Regions from separate parts of the Homo sapiens genome. Here region 1 is linked to region 2. Evidence: promoter capture Hi-C in human tissues and cell types (Jung and others, 2019). All regions are on one chromosome and are shown on one strand. The core of a region is centred on a gene start or on the middle of the fragment in contact, and the rest is flanking DNA. Distances in the headings are between cores, read along the strand shown.

Evidence for each region. Contacts are between HindIII fragments. The study calls those that stand out against the background at their distance.
Region 1: a fragment that was not itself captured here is called in contact with the fragment with the promoter of PRLHR in region 2 in 2 of the 25 tissues and cell types used here (heart left ventricle and spleen).

Annotation. Positions count from the first base shown.
Region 1 is chr10:118,779,618-118,785,375 of GRCh38, reverse strand. LINC03036 (long intergenic non-protein coding RNA 3036) reads left to right here. Exons shown (of 4, transcript NR_186540.1): 4 at 1-832. Among named protein-coding and RNA genes, the nearest start is that of CACUL1, 28 kb to the right of the region's middle. The HindIII fragment of the contact is 7,267 bases long and covers 1-5,758 here.
Region 2 is chr10:118,591,210-118,596,991 of GRCh38, reverse strand. It overlaps PRLHR (prolactin releasing hormone receptor), which reads left to right and starts at 1,344. Exons shown (of 2, transcript NM_004248.3): 1 at 1,344-1,476; 2 at 1,742-5,782. The coding sequence starts at 1,748. The coding sequence ends at 2,860. RefSeq lists enhancers at 1-767, 768-1,576, 1,577-2,385. The HindIII fragment of the contact is 7,132 bases long and covers 1-5,782 here.

The DNA of each region.
Region 1 (5,758 bases), core at 1,586-4,085, 190 kb before region 2:
CAAATTGCTAGGATTTATAGATGTGAGGCACTGGACCCAGCCCATGATCTAGTTTTACCAAAATTGATCTTTACAAAATGAAAATGTTTTAATAGATTATTATAGATTGAAGATTAAAGATAATACTAATAGTATAAGTCCCAGAAAACCATAAGAAATTGGCAGAGCTTATGTGGCTAGTATCAGCTCTATATCAGCACATTATGAGGTAAAATGAAATCTGCCAAGAAGTCAGCCTCTTTGCCCCCCAAACTAAAATGATCAAGAGGGTCCCTTGAAAGATGGATTTATGTCCACTGTCATTCATGAGCTCACCCTTAGTGTGTATTGTGCCTTGCAATATTATTTATTAATAAAAAAATGCCATCAAAATTAACACTAAAATATTACATCTTTAACTCATCTTTAAAAAATTTTTAATGTAATGTATATATAATGTATACATAAATATGCATGTATTGGAGCTGCAAATGTCTTAAAAAATAGAGATTTCTATGGACTGAACTGTGTTCCAACAAATACATATGTTGAAGCCCTAATCCCCAGTGTGACTGTATTTGGACATGGGGCTTTTAGGAGGTAATTAAGGTTAAATAAGGTCATAAGGGTGGGGTCCTAATCAATTGAATTGGTGACCTTGTAAGAGAGGGATGAGAGAGATATTGTGCTCTCTCTCCCTGTGCATACATCCAGGAAGGACCATGTAAGAACATAGCAAGAAGGCAGCCATCTGCAGACCAGGAAGAGAGACCCCACCACAACCCAACCATACCAGCACCCTGATCTTGGGTTTCCATAACTATGAAAAAATAAACTTCTGTTGTTTAAGCTATTCTGTCTGTGTTATTTTGTGATGGCAGCCTGAACAGACTAATACAGGGATATATGATCAAAAACATTCGGAGACCACTGAGAAATGGGTCAGTGTAGTTGGTTGTGGCAGTAACAGCTCCCACTTGTTCCTGGTTCCCTCGTTCCATGCCCTTGGGTGGTCCCCTCCCACGGACTCTGGCCTTGTGACTTGCTTTGGACAATGTAAAAATAGCTAATGTGTCACAAGCAGAGGAAAGTGCTTGTGAGTTGGTGTTTGCCTTCTTTCTTACCGTGGGACCTTCTGGCACCTACTGAACAAGACCATTGTACCCTCCTTGTGTGTCCAGAATTGGCGGGTTCTTGGTCTCACTGACTTCAAGAATGAAGCCGCGGACCCTCACGGTGAGTGTTACAGCTCTTAAGGTGGCGCGTGTGGAGTCTCTCCCTTCTGATATTCAGATGTGTTCGGAGTTTCTTCCTTCTGGTGGGTTTGTGGTCTCGCTGGCTCAGGAGTGAAGCTGCAGACCTTCACGGTGAGTATTATAGCTCTTAAGGCAACGCGTCTGTAGTTCGTTCCTTCCGGGGGGCTCGTGGTCTCGCTGGGCTCAGGAGTGAAACTGCAAATCTTCGCGGTGAGTGTTACAGCTCAGAAAAGCAGCGTGGACCCAAAGAGTGAGCAGTAGCAAGATTTATTGCAAACAACAAAAGAACAAACCTTCCACAGTGCACAAGGGGACCCAAGCCCGTTGCCAATGCTAGCTCGGGCAGCCTGCTTTTATTCTCTTATCTGGCCCCACCCACATCCTGCTGATTGGTAGAGCCGAGTGGCCTGTTTTGTCAGGGCGCTGATTGGTGCGTTTACAATCCCTGAGGTAGATACAAAGGTTCTCCACGTCCCCATCAGATTAGTTAGATACAGAGTTTCGACACACAGGTTCTCCAGGGCCCCACCAGAGCAGCTAGATACTGAGTGTCGATTGGTGCATTCACAGACCTTGAGCTAAACACAGGGTGCTGATTGGTGTATTTACAATCCCTGACCTAGACATAAAGGTTCTCCAAGGCCCCACCAGAGCAGCTAGATACGGAGTGTCGATTGGTGCCCTCACAAACCTTGAGCTAAACACAGGGTGATGATTGGTGTATTTACAATCCCTGAACTAGATATAAAGACTCTCCACGTCCCCACCAGACTCAGGAGTCCAGCTGGCTTCACCTAGTGCATCCCGCACCGGGGCTGCAGGTGGAGCTGCCTGCCAGTCCTGTGCCCTGCGCTCGCATTCCTCAGCCCTTGGGTGGTCGATGGGACTGGACGTCGTGGAGTAGGGGGTGGTGCTCGTCGGGGAGGCTCAGGCCGCACAGGAGCCCATGGAGTGGGTGGGAGGCTCAGGCATGGCGGGCTGCATGTCCCGAGCCCTGCCCCGCGGGAAGGCAGCTAAGGCCCAGCGAGAAATCGAGCGCAGCGCCGGTGGGCCGGCACTGCTGGGGGACTCAGTAGACCCTCCGCAGCCACTGGCCCGGGTGCTAAGTCCCCCATTGCCCGGGGCCAGCAGGGCTGGCTGGCTGCTCCGAGTGCGGGGCCCACCAAGCCCACGCCCACCTGGAACTCCAGCTGGCCCGCAAGCGCTGCACGCAGCCCCGGTTCCCGCTCGTGCCTCTCCCTCCACACCTCCCTGCAAGCTGAGGGAGTGGGCTCCAGCCTTGGCCAGCCCAGAAAGGGGCTTCCACAGTGCAGAGGGGGCGCTGAAGGGCTCCTCAAATGCCACCAAAGTGGGAGCCCAGGCAGGGGAGGTGCCGAGAGCAAGCGAGGGCTCTGAGGACTGCCAGCATGCTGTCACCTCTCACTTGTAGGTTAAGAAACCATGGGGAAGGTGGCTGCAAACATCCCAACTGAGGCCCAGGACCCATGTATCATCCTGGACCACCCACCTCTGGCTAACCTGGTCCAGAACACAAGAATTGCTCGGATCACCCATAGAGTCATGAGAAAGCAGAAACATCTGTTGCTTGAAGCCACTGAGTTTCTGGGTGGTTATGGAGAAAAAGCCAAGTCATACAGTGGGGCAGGTACATCACAAACTCTTGCCCGGTTTAAATGCCTTGTAGCCTAACAAATGGATGTTCATCAGATGTGTGACATTTCCAGAGCCTAGAATAGGGCCTAGCACATATTAGATGCTCAAAAACATTTATTGAGTAAATGAAGAAGATAAATCATAGCAAACACACACTGAACAGTTCCTAAATATGTTTACATGGATTCTTGCACTTAATCCTTTGCCCAAAACATGAGGTAGGTACTATGATTTTCATGCCCATTTTAAGATGGGGCAACCAAAGCTTAGGGAAGTTAAGTCCCTTGCCCGAGATTAGACCACTGGAAACAGCTGGATAGGGACTGGGTCTCTCCCATCCTGCCTGTCTGCCTGCATAGTAGCCACTTAGGTGCTGTGCAATACCACCAATTCTAGACTGCCTGTCCCTCTATATGGAATGAAATTCTGAGAATAAAAGCCAGAAACAGAATTTTCAGAGTCCCTCTGTTGCTTAAGTTGTCCTTAGTTCATCGGGCCCCTCCAGGCATACAGTGGTGGCTGGGGTCTGATCATTTAGCTCTGAGAACCAGGTTTCTCATCATGGTGGCAGCTGTGTGCCTAGTGGGCCCTGCTTGATTGGGAAGAGGTCACCAATGGAGGTCATTAGGAGTAAAAGACGCAGACCAGGAGCTGGCTGCTTCCAGAGCCAGTACCTAGGAGGAGAGCCAGGCTGTGCTCCAGCTTGGGCTCTATGAGAACTAATTGATGCCAGTTGCATTCCCTGGGACCCAGGTGGTGCCCATTATGCAAAGGAACAAAGCCAGCTCAGTAGAGAGTCTGTGCTAGGCAGGGCTTCTGCAGCCAATAGCTTTCCCTGGTGGCATTCTGTGTACGGCCTTCTGTCTGTCCATCCTGACCTGCATCCATCTTCAGATGGACAGAAGCAGCACAGATTGGATTGGCTGCGTAGGGTCTACGCACAGGGTGCATGCTGGGCCACTTGGGCTTTGTTTACGGCAGGCCCCAGTCTGAAGGGAGCAGGTCTGGCAGCTTCTAGAAGAGGACTGTCATGTAACTGGCTAGTGTGCTCAGAGCTTTACATAAGGTTATTCTTTCAGTCCTTGAAGGGAATGAGCTCCCAGTTCCAAGTGTTCCCATGCTGTTATTCTCCATTACAGTATACTATTTGTTGTGATGATTTCGTGTATTTATTTGCTTTCTTTCTCATCTCTTCCCCATTGGGCTTCAAGCTCCATGAAGGTCAAAGTCTTACCTGTCTTTTTCTCCATATCTTCAGCATAATATCATGCAAATAGCAGATGTATAATAAAAATTTGTTTGGTGTTTTTTGAGATGGAGTCTCATTTTGTCACCCAGGCTTGAGTGCAGTGGTACAATCTCGGCTCACTGCAAACTCCACCTCCCAGTTTCAAGTGATTCTCCCGCCTCAGCTCCCAGAGTAGCTGGGATTACAGGCGCGTGCCACCAAGCCCCGCTAATTTTTGTATTTTTAGTAGAGATAGGGTTTCACCATGTTGGCCAGGCTGGACTCGAACTCCTGACCTCAAGTGATCTGCCTGCCTCGGTCTCCCAAAGTGCTGGGATTATAGGCTTGAGCCACCATGCCTGGACTTGTTTGATAAATTCTTGAAGAAAGATATTTTAATTTTTATTTAATAAAGCAAAACTAAAGTTTAGGAATGTTGGGTAACTTACTCATGGTTACACAGCAGTAAATCTTAGAAACTAAATTCTAACTTGGGTTCAACTGACTTTGAAACCTGTGAGGTTTTTCTAAAGCATGAGGTAGGTACCACCTGTGGTAGGAGAGATAATTTAAGTCATGCACAAGCACATTTAAAAAATATTAAATTATAATGCAAAAGTCATTTCCTTTCCATTTATCTTTCAGTTCTGATTATTTCAAGAAAATAATTTTTCCAAAAAGGAGCAGGCCTCAAGTTCAAGAGCAAGGCTAGCAGATGAGGTTTGGCTGTGAGAGGCAGAAAGCTTGAAAAGAGTGGTATTACAAGATAAAGTATGGTTCTTTCTCGTGTAAATGAACCAGAGGCAGGCAGCCTAGGGTTGGAAAAGCAGTTCTATGATTGTCAGAAACTCCTTCTACTACACTGCTCTGGCACCCATATTAGAGTCTCTACTTTATAGCCCAAGATAGTTGCTGCAGCTCCTGCCATCATGTCTACCTTGTAGCCATAAGGAAGAAGGCGAAATTCCTGCCTTCTTCTTTCAGAACCACTTCCTGGAAGTCATATGCAACAATTCAGTTTATAGTCCTTTAGCCACTAGGAGAATTGAAAAAAGAAGGAATGGAGGGAGGAGGAAGGAATGGAGGGAGGAGGAAACAATAATTATGTTTCTATCGCTGTATTAGGAGCCTGGCTTTCACAAGGCCCATGGGCTCGTTGTACTTGGCGGAGTCTCTAAGCTGGAAGCTTTGATCAGAAGATAAAGAAGTGCTTGGTTGTTGGACTGCCTGTACACTGGGACTTGCCCTGTGGTTCTGGGTCCACAAGACTGATGAAGAGAGGAAGTCACTGTACTGGGCCTTGTGGGAGAGGGGCAATTTCCTTTTCTCCCCAGGGTGTATATGTGGGAGGAGGGGCTGTTCCCCTCATTATGCCTCTAAGCCCAATGAAGGGGGAAGATTGCAAAAGAATCCCTATAGGGCTCAGGTGTACCCTGCGGAAGCAGAGCCTGGTACTCCATCCCGGTCAGATAATGCCCAGGCCCTGGACGTGCTGATCTCTGGATGCACCGATCTCTGGATGGGCCTCATTGAGCAGGGGAGAAGAGGGCAGAGAGCAGGCTGGGACAGGCACCTGTCCACCCATGTGTGGCCCTGAACATCCATATGTGTGAGTTTCCCAGGCGTCCAAGGTACGTGGTGG
Region 2 (5,782 bases), core at 95-2,594:
AAACAAGAGGCTGAGGGAATGAGATAGCTTCTAAGGAGGGAGCTTACAAAGGCCCCTCCTCCCCTGGCTCTTGCCCCGTGGGCCAGGCTAATTTGCATTTCAATGAGGACTTAATACTACTGAAGATTTTATGAAACGCCTAAGCTTCTCAAATGTTTGTTACTTTTGTTACCCTAGCTGAAATCTGCAATTACCAGTATTTTTAAAAAATCCTAAAATGAAGAGAAGAGGCCTGTGGGTGTTCAGTCAAGGAGGGAGGGGTCAAGTCTCAGTCCAGGAACTACTCTGTGCTGGGAGAAGCAGCCAGATACGGCACAGGTCGCGGTAGCCGAGAAAGAAAGCGAGAGAAAGGGTGAGCCGGGGAGTCGCTGGGCCAGACTGAAGTGTGCCTGTGTAGAATAACTGGCAGGAGAGCTGCATTTTCTGACCCCGGGAGGTAAAAGACGACGCCGTCCTTGGCACTGAGTGCGGTGACCACCAAGAGGAGCAAAAGTCATGAGTCTCCGACCCCCAGGCCCCCGGCTCAGCTGCCTCCACTCCACCCTACTCTTCTCAGCCCCAGCCCAGAAAGCAGGCAGCGAGGCAGGTCTTTGAACCGGACCAGGTTCCTTCCCCAAACACCCGGATCCAGAGAGGGGCAGGAATTCCCTAGTCATTTTCCCCTGCTCCTCCCCACATCATCCGCCCGAGGGGCGGCAGATCCAGCGGAAGCTGTCCGTGGTGCTGACTCCTGCCTTTGGCTTGGCCGGACCCGCTGCCCGCTGAGCGCGCTGCAGCCAAGCAGGGGGCTCGTGTGGCGGGGCCACGGGAGGGTGAGGGTCCTCAGGTCCGCGACCAGCTCCAGGCTCTGCTGTTAAATCCCAGCCCGAGCCCTCTAGCGTCTCTGCCCTCCGCAACCTGGCCGCTAGGCAGGATCCAGCCTTTAAGAACGGGTCAGTCGTGCCTCTCTCAAGCCCCCAGCTGCATTGCAATCTCCCACCGCTACTTCCTTCCCCGCTCCTTCCCTCCTAAGACTGCACCGGCTCCTCCCGATAGCCTGACGCTTCGCGCCTCTCCTCCGCCCTCCTCCACTGTGCGCTCCTCCGGACCCTGACCCTCCAGGGGCCGTGCAAGCTCCTGCAGTAGAGATTCGTCCTCTTCGCTGCTCTGGCCAGGTTTGCCGGCCCCTCCTCCCGTTTCGGATTCCATCCTCCCCACACTGTCCTCTTCACTAGTTCTCTAAGCACCGAGCATGGCAGAGCGCGCTCCACCCCTATTTTCCATACATGGGAGCTGGAGTGGGGGGCGGAGCTGAGGGGAGGCGCTCCCAGTCCCTCTAAGAAGCTGCTAGCCCACTGGGAAACATTTGGATCCGTTCAGCTCCCGCGGAGAAGCGAGACCGGATCACCGACGTGGGCAGAGGACTACCGAGGGCCAGCAGAAATTCTGCCCCTTCTTCCCGCGAGTGCTTTCCCGCTCTCCAAACCCCACTCCCAGGTAGGATCGCGCTCCTGAGTCTGCCTGCGTGGACTGCGAGGACCGTAAATAGAGGCGGAAGCGTTTAAATAAACCGTATGTTCTAACCGTGCTTAGGTTTATTTTACAGAGGTGAGAGGACAACACTTTTTGCTACTTTTGCTGTTGTTCTGTGGCCGGTTATTCCCAAGGGAGGACTCAGGCGATGGGGGAGGGGCGCGGCTGGTGTAGGAGGTCGGATGGAGTATGGCAAGGGAAGTGACGGACTTTGATTACCTTTGAACAGGTGGCCATGGCCTCATCGACCACTCGGGGCCCCAGGGTTTCTGACTTATTTTCTGGGCTGCCGCCGGCGGTCACAACTCCCGCCAACCAGAGCGCAGAGGCCTCGGCGGGCAACGGGTCGGTGGCTGGCGCGGACGCTCCAGCCGTCACGCCCTTCCAGAGCCTGCAGCTGGTGCATCAGCTGAAGGGGCTGATCGTGCTGCTCTACAGCGTCGTGGTGGTCGTGGGGCTGGTGGGCAACTGCCTGCTGGTGCTGGTGATCGCGCGGGTGCGCCGGCTGCACAACGTGACGAACTTCCTCATCGGCAACCTGGCCTTGTCCGACGTGCTCATGTGCACCGCCTGCGTGCCGCTCACGCTGGCCTATGCCTTCGAGCCACGCGGCTGGGTGTTCGGCGGCGGCCTGTGCCACCTGGTCTTCTTCCTGCAGCCGGTCACCGTCTATGTGTCGGTGTTCACGCTCACCACCATCGCAGTGGACCGCTACGTCGTGCTGGTGCACCCGCTGAGGCGGCGCATCTCGCTGCGCCTCAGCGCCTACGCTGTGCTGGCCATCTGGGCGCTGTCCGCGGTGCTGGCGCTGCCCGCCGCCGTGCACACCTATCACGTGGAGCTCAAGCCGCACGACGTGCGCCTCTGCGAGGAGTTCTGGGGCTCCCAGGAGCGCCAGCGCCAGCTCTACGCCTGGGGGCTGCTGCTGGTCACCTACCTGCTCCCTCTGCTGGTCATCCTCCTGTCTTACGTCCGGGTGTCAGTGAAGCTCCGCAACCGCGTGGTGCCGGGCTGCGTGACCCAGAGCCAGGCCGACTGGGACCGCGCTCGGCGCCGGCGCACCTTCTGCTTGCTGGTGGTGATCGTGGTGGTGTTCGCCGTCTGCTGGCTGCCGCTGCACGTCTTCAACCTGCTGCGGGACCTCGACCCCCACGCCATCGACCCTTACGCCTTTGGGCTGGTGCAGCTGCTCTGCCACTGGCTCGCCATGAGTTCGGCCTGCTACAACCCCTTCATCTACGCCTGGCTGCACGACAGCTTCCGCGAGGAGCTGCGCAAACTGTTGGTCGCTTGGCCCCGCAAGATAGCCCCCCATGGCCAGAATATGACCGTCAGCGTGGTCATCTGATGCCACTTAGCCAGGCCTTGGTCAAGGAGCTCCACTTCAACTGGCCTCCTAGGGCACCACTCGAGGTCAATCTGGTGCTTATTCTCAGCACCAGAGCTAGCTAAGCCAACATAGGGCAACATTTCCAGCCCAGCCCTCTTGTCCGGCTGTCTGTCTTGTCCTTGTGTGTTTGTAAAATGTTAAGCGGGCTTTGGTGAGAGTCTTGCTCTTTGCTTGGGGGAGGCCAAAGAGAGGGAAGAGGATTTCTTATTTCTTCTTTATGCCCTTGAAGGACAAACAAAACTTTTTCTCCACGTTCAGAAAAGTATTTCAGAACCACGATTGCCTTCCTGGCGTCCCCTCCTCCTGCTCGTTGGTGAAATGAACAATATGAATGGGATTTAAAAGGAATGCATTGGGCTTGGTAAAGATTTTCAGTTTGCCTTTAGAAAAAGGACCCAGCTGAGAGTACCATGATATTGCTTAGTCCATTTGAACCCTTGCATTCCTAGAATTTCAGGTAAATATGTATTAAAACTCTACATCTAGGATTTCAGCATTTCCTGAGTAAGACCTTTATATGCCAAAAGGGTTTCGTTTTAAAACCACTTGAGTTTATAGTACAAAAACACCTACAAGCTCCCTTTAGAAAGGTCTTGCTATTGTTTCTCCCCTTTCCTCCCCAACTACTATTTAAAAATGATGAGACGAATTAGTCAATGAAGAGATAGATAAATAAAGAGGAAAAGGTCCAATTCACTTAAGAGGTCATTCAATTGTACCTAAGGACAGACATCCTCTGTGTATGTGTGTTTGTGTATGTGTGTGTATGTGTGGGTACACATTCAGTGTTTGCCACAAAGTGGGCACTCAAATATTTGGTTTTCTGAATACTCAATGTAAACTGTGTAGCGTGGCATTCTCCTGCAGTCTCTAATTGCTCACTTGCAACAGATCAACAGCTGTCATCTGACTGCTCAGCACCTGCTCTGTAGTGATTCTTGGAACATGATCAACCCAGAAATCAAGGACCGGCAGAAGTTTACTTAAGGACAGAACAGAAGAATAAGCTACCACCCACATGATGTGTAGATCAAACACTAATTACCTCCAGGGTTAAGGGAAAAGGTGAAGACTGTGGAGCATGATACCAGGCTGATAATCATCACCTTAACCTCCTGTGAGTTCTGTAAATGAGGACAAGTGCCTTGGGACAAAGGTCTCCACACTGTTGGAAAAGCAACTTGGGCAGTGAGGGCAGGAGTCTTGGGAAATGATACATAATATCCAGCTGTCAGATCAGCCTCTGTGTTCCCAGTAACTCAGTCACCATCTGTAGGGTTCAACTACTTTCCCAGCTCACTGAACACAAGAATCACTGTTTCACCTCCTCCTGCTTCTCTTATTCAGAAATAAGCTCAATTCATTCATTAAAATGTGCCCTAAAAGGAAAGGAAAGAGGGATGATATGGGAATGACAAGGGTTCAATCCTATTACATTCATGTCAACAACCATGGTGGGAGTGGGAGTGATCACGGTTGGGCTGGTTGGCATAGGAATCTTTAGTAGTTACAGGGCTAGACTTTTTGCACACAGTAAAGGGTAGGAAAGGCTGGCTTGGGAGAAAGGAAAAGGCAGGCAAAGATGGGTATGGAGGTTACCTCTGGCAATGGTGCTAAATGAACTTGAGCTTCATCCGTGGATTGGAGAACAAAGAACCTGTGTGCTAATAGTGCAACCCACCCCTGCCCCAGATAAGCTCATCTCCCAGGCATCCCGAGGACTGGCTCCTGTGCTTCCAGCAGCTATATTACTTGGGAGGCTCAGGGCCAGACATTTCTCATTTCCTCAGAGAGTTCCTTTGATGGTCATGTGTGGAGAGTGTAGATGGTAGAGGGGAAGGAGAGGGATTATTTGGGGAGGGATCTGATTCATCGTCGGCTCTTTGTTGGAAGGTTTGAATCACTGGTTCTCAACCCTGGCTGCTCCTAGAATCACCTGGGGAACTTTTTTTTCTTTTTGTAATTGATGTCTGGGCTCTCCTCCCAAGAGTCTAGTTGATTTGAGATGGTGCCTGGACACTAGCATTTTCCAAAGCACTTCAGGGGATTTTAATGTGCAACCAAGATTAAGCACCTTAAGAATTATCCTTTCTAGGGCTGGGCATGGTGGCTTACACCTGTAATCCCAGCATTTTGGGGGACCGAGGCAGGCAGATCACAAGGTCAGGAGTTTGAGACCAGCCTGGCCAACGTGTTGAAACCCTGTCTCTACTTAAAATACAAAAATTAGCCAGGCGTGGTGGCGCACGCCTGTAATCCCAGCTACTCGGGAGGCTGAGGCAGGAGAATTGCTTGAACCCAGGGAGGCAGAGGTTGCAGTGAGCTGAGATTGTGCCAGTGTACTCCAACCTGGGTGACAGAACAAGACTCCATCTCGGGGTGGGGGGTGGGGGCGGGAATCCTCTTTCTAATGAATCTCAGAAACATCCGAATGAAGCTTTAGTTGTACCTGCCAAAGGTGTTAATAATTTGGAGCTGAATTTGACGGTGTTACATGCCATACTTAGAGAATACTCTTTTAGTCTTCAGGCAATACCAGCTCAATCACAAAGAGGCAAATTATTGAAATCAGAATATATAGGGATTCGTTCAACAGTTTACTTACATATTTCTTATGTATCAGTCCAATCAATTCAGAAGGAATATCATCATTCAACCTTAGGTCAATTGTATTATAAAGTTACATACCATGGCCAGGTACCATGGCTCACATCTATAATTCCAAAACTTTGGGAGACCGAAGAGGGAGAATTGCTTGAGCCCAGGAGTTCAAGACCAGCCTGGGAAATATGGCAAAACTCCATCTCTACAAAAAATAGCCGGACGTGGTGGTGCACACCTGTGGTCCCAGCTACTTGGGACACAAAGGCAGGAGGATCA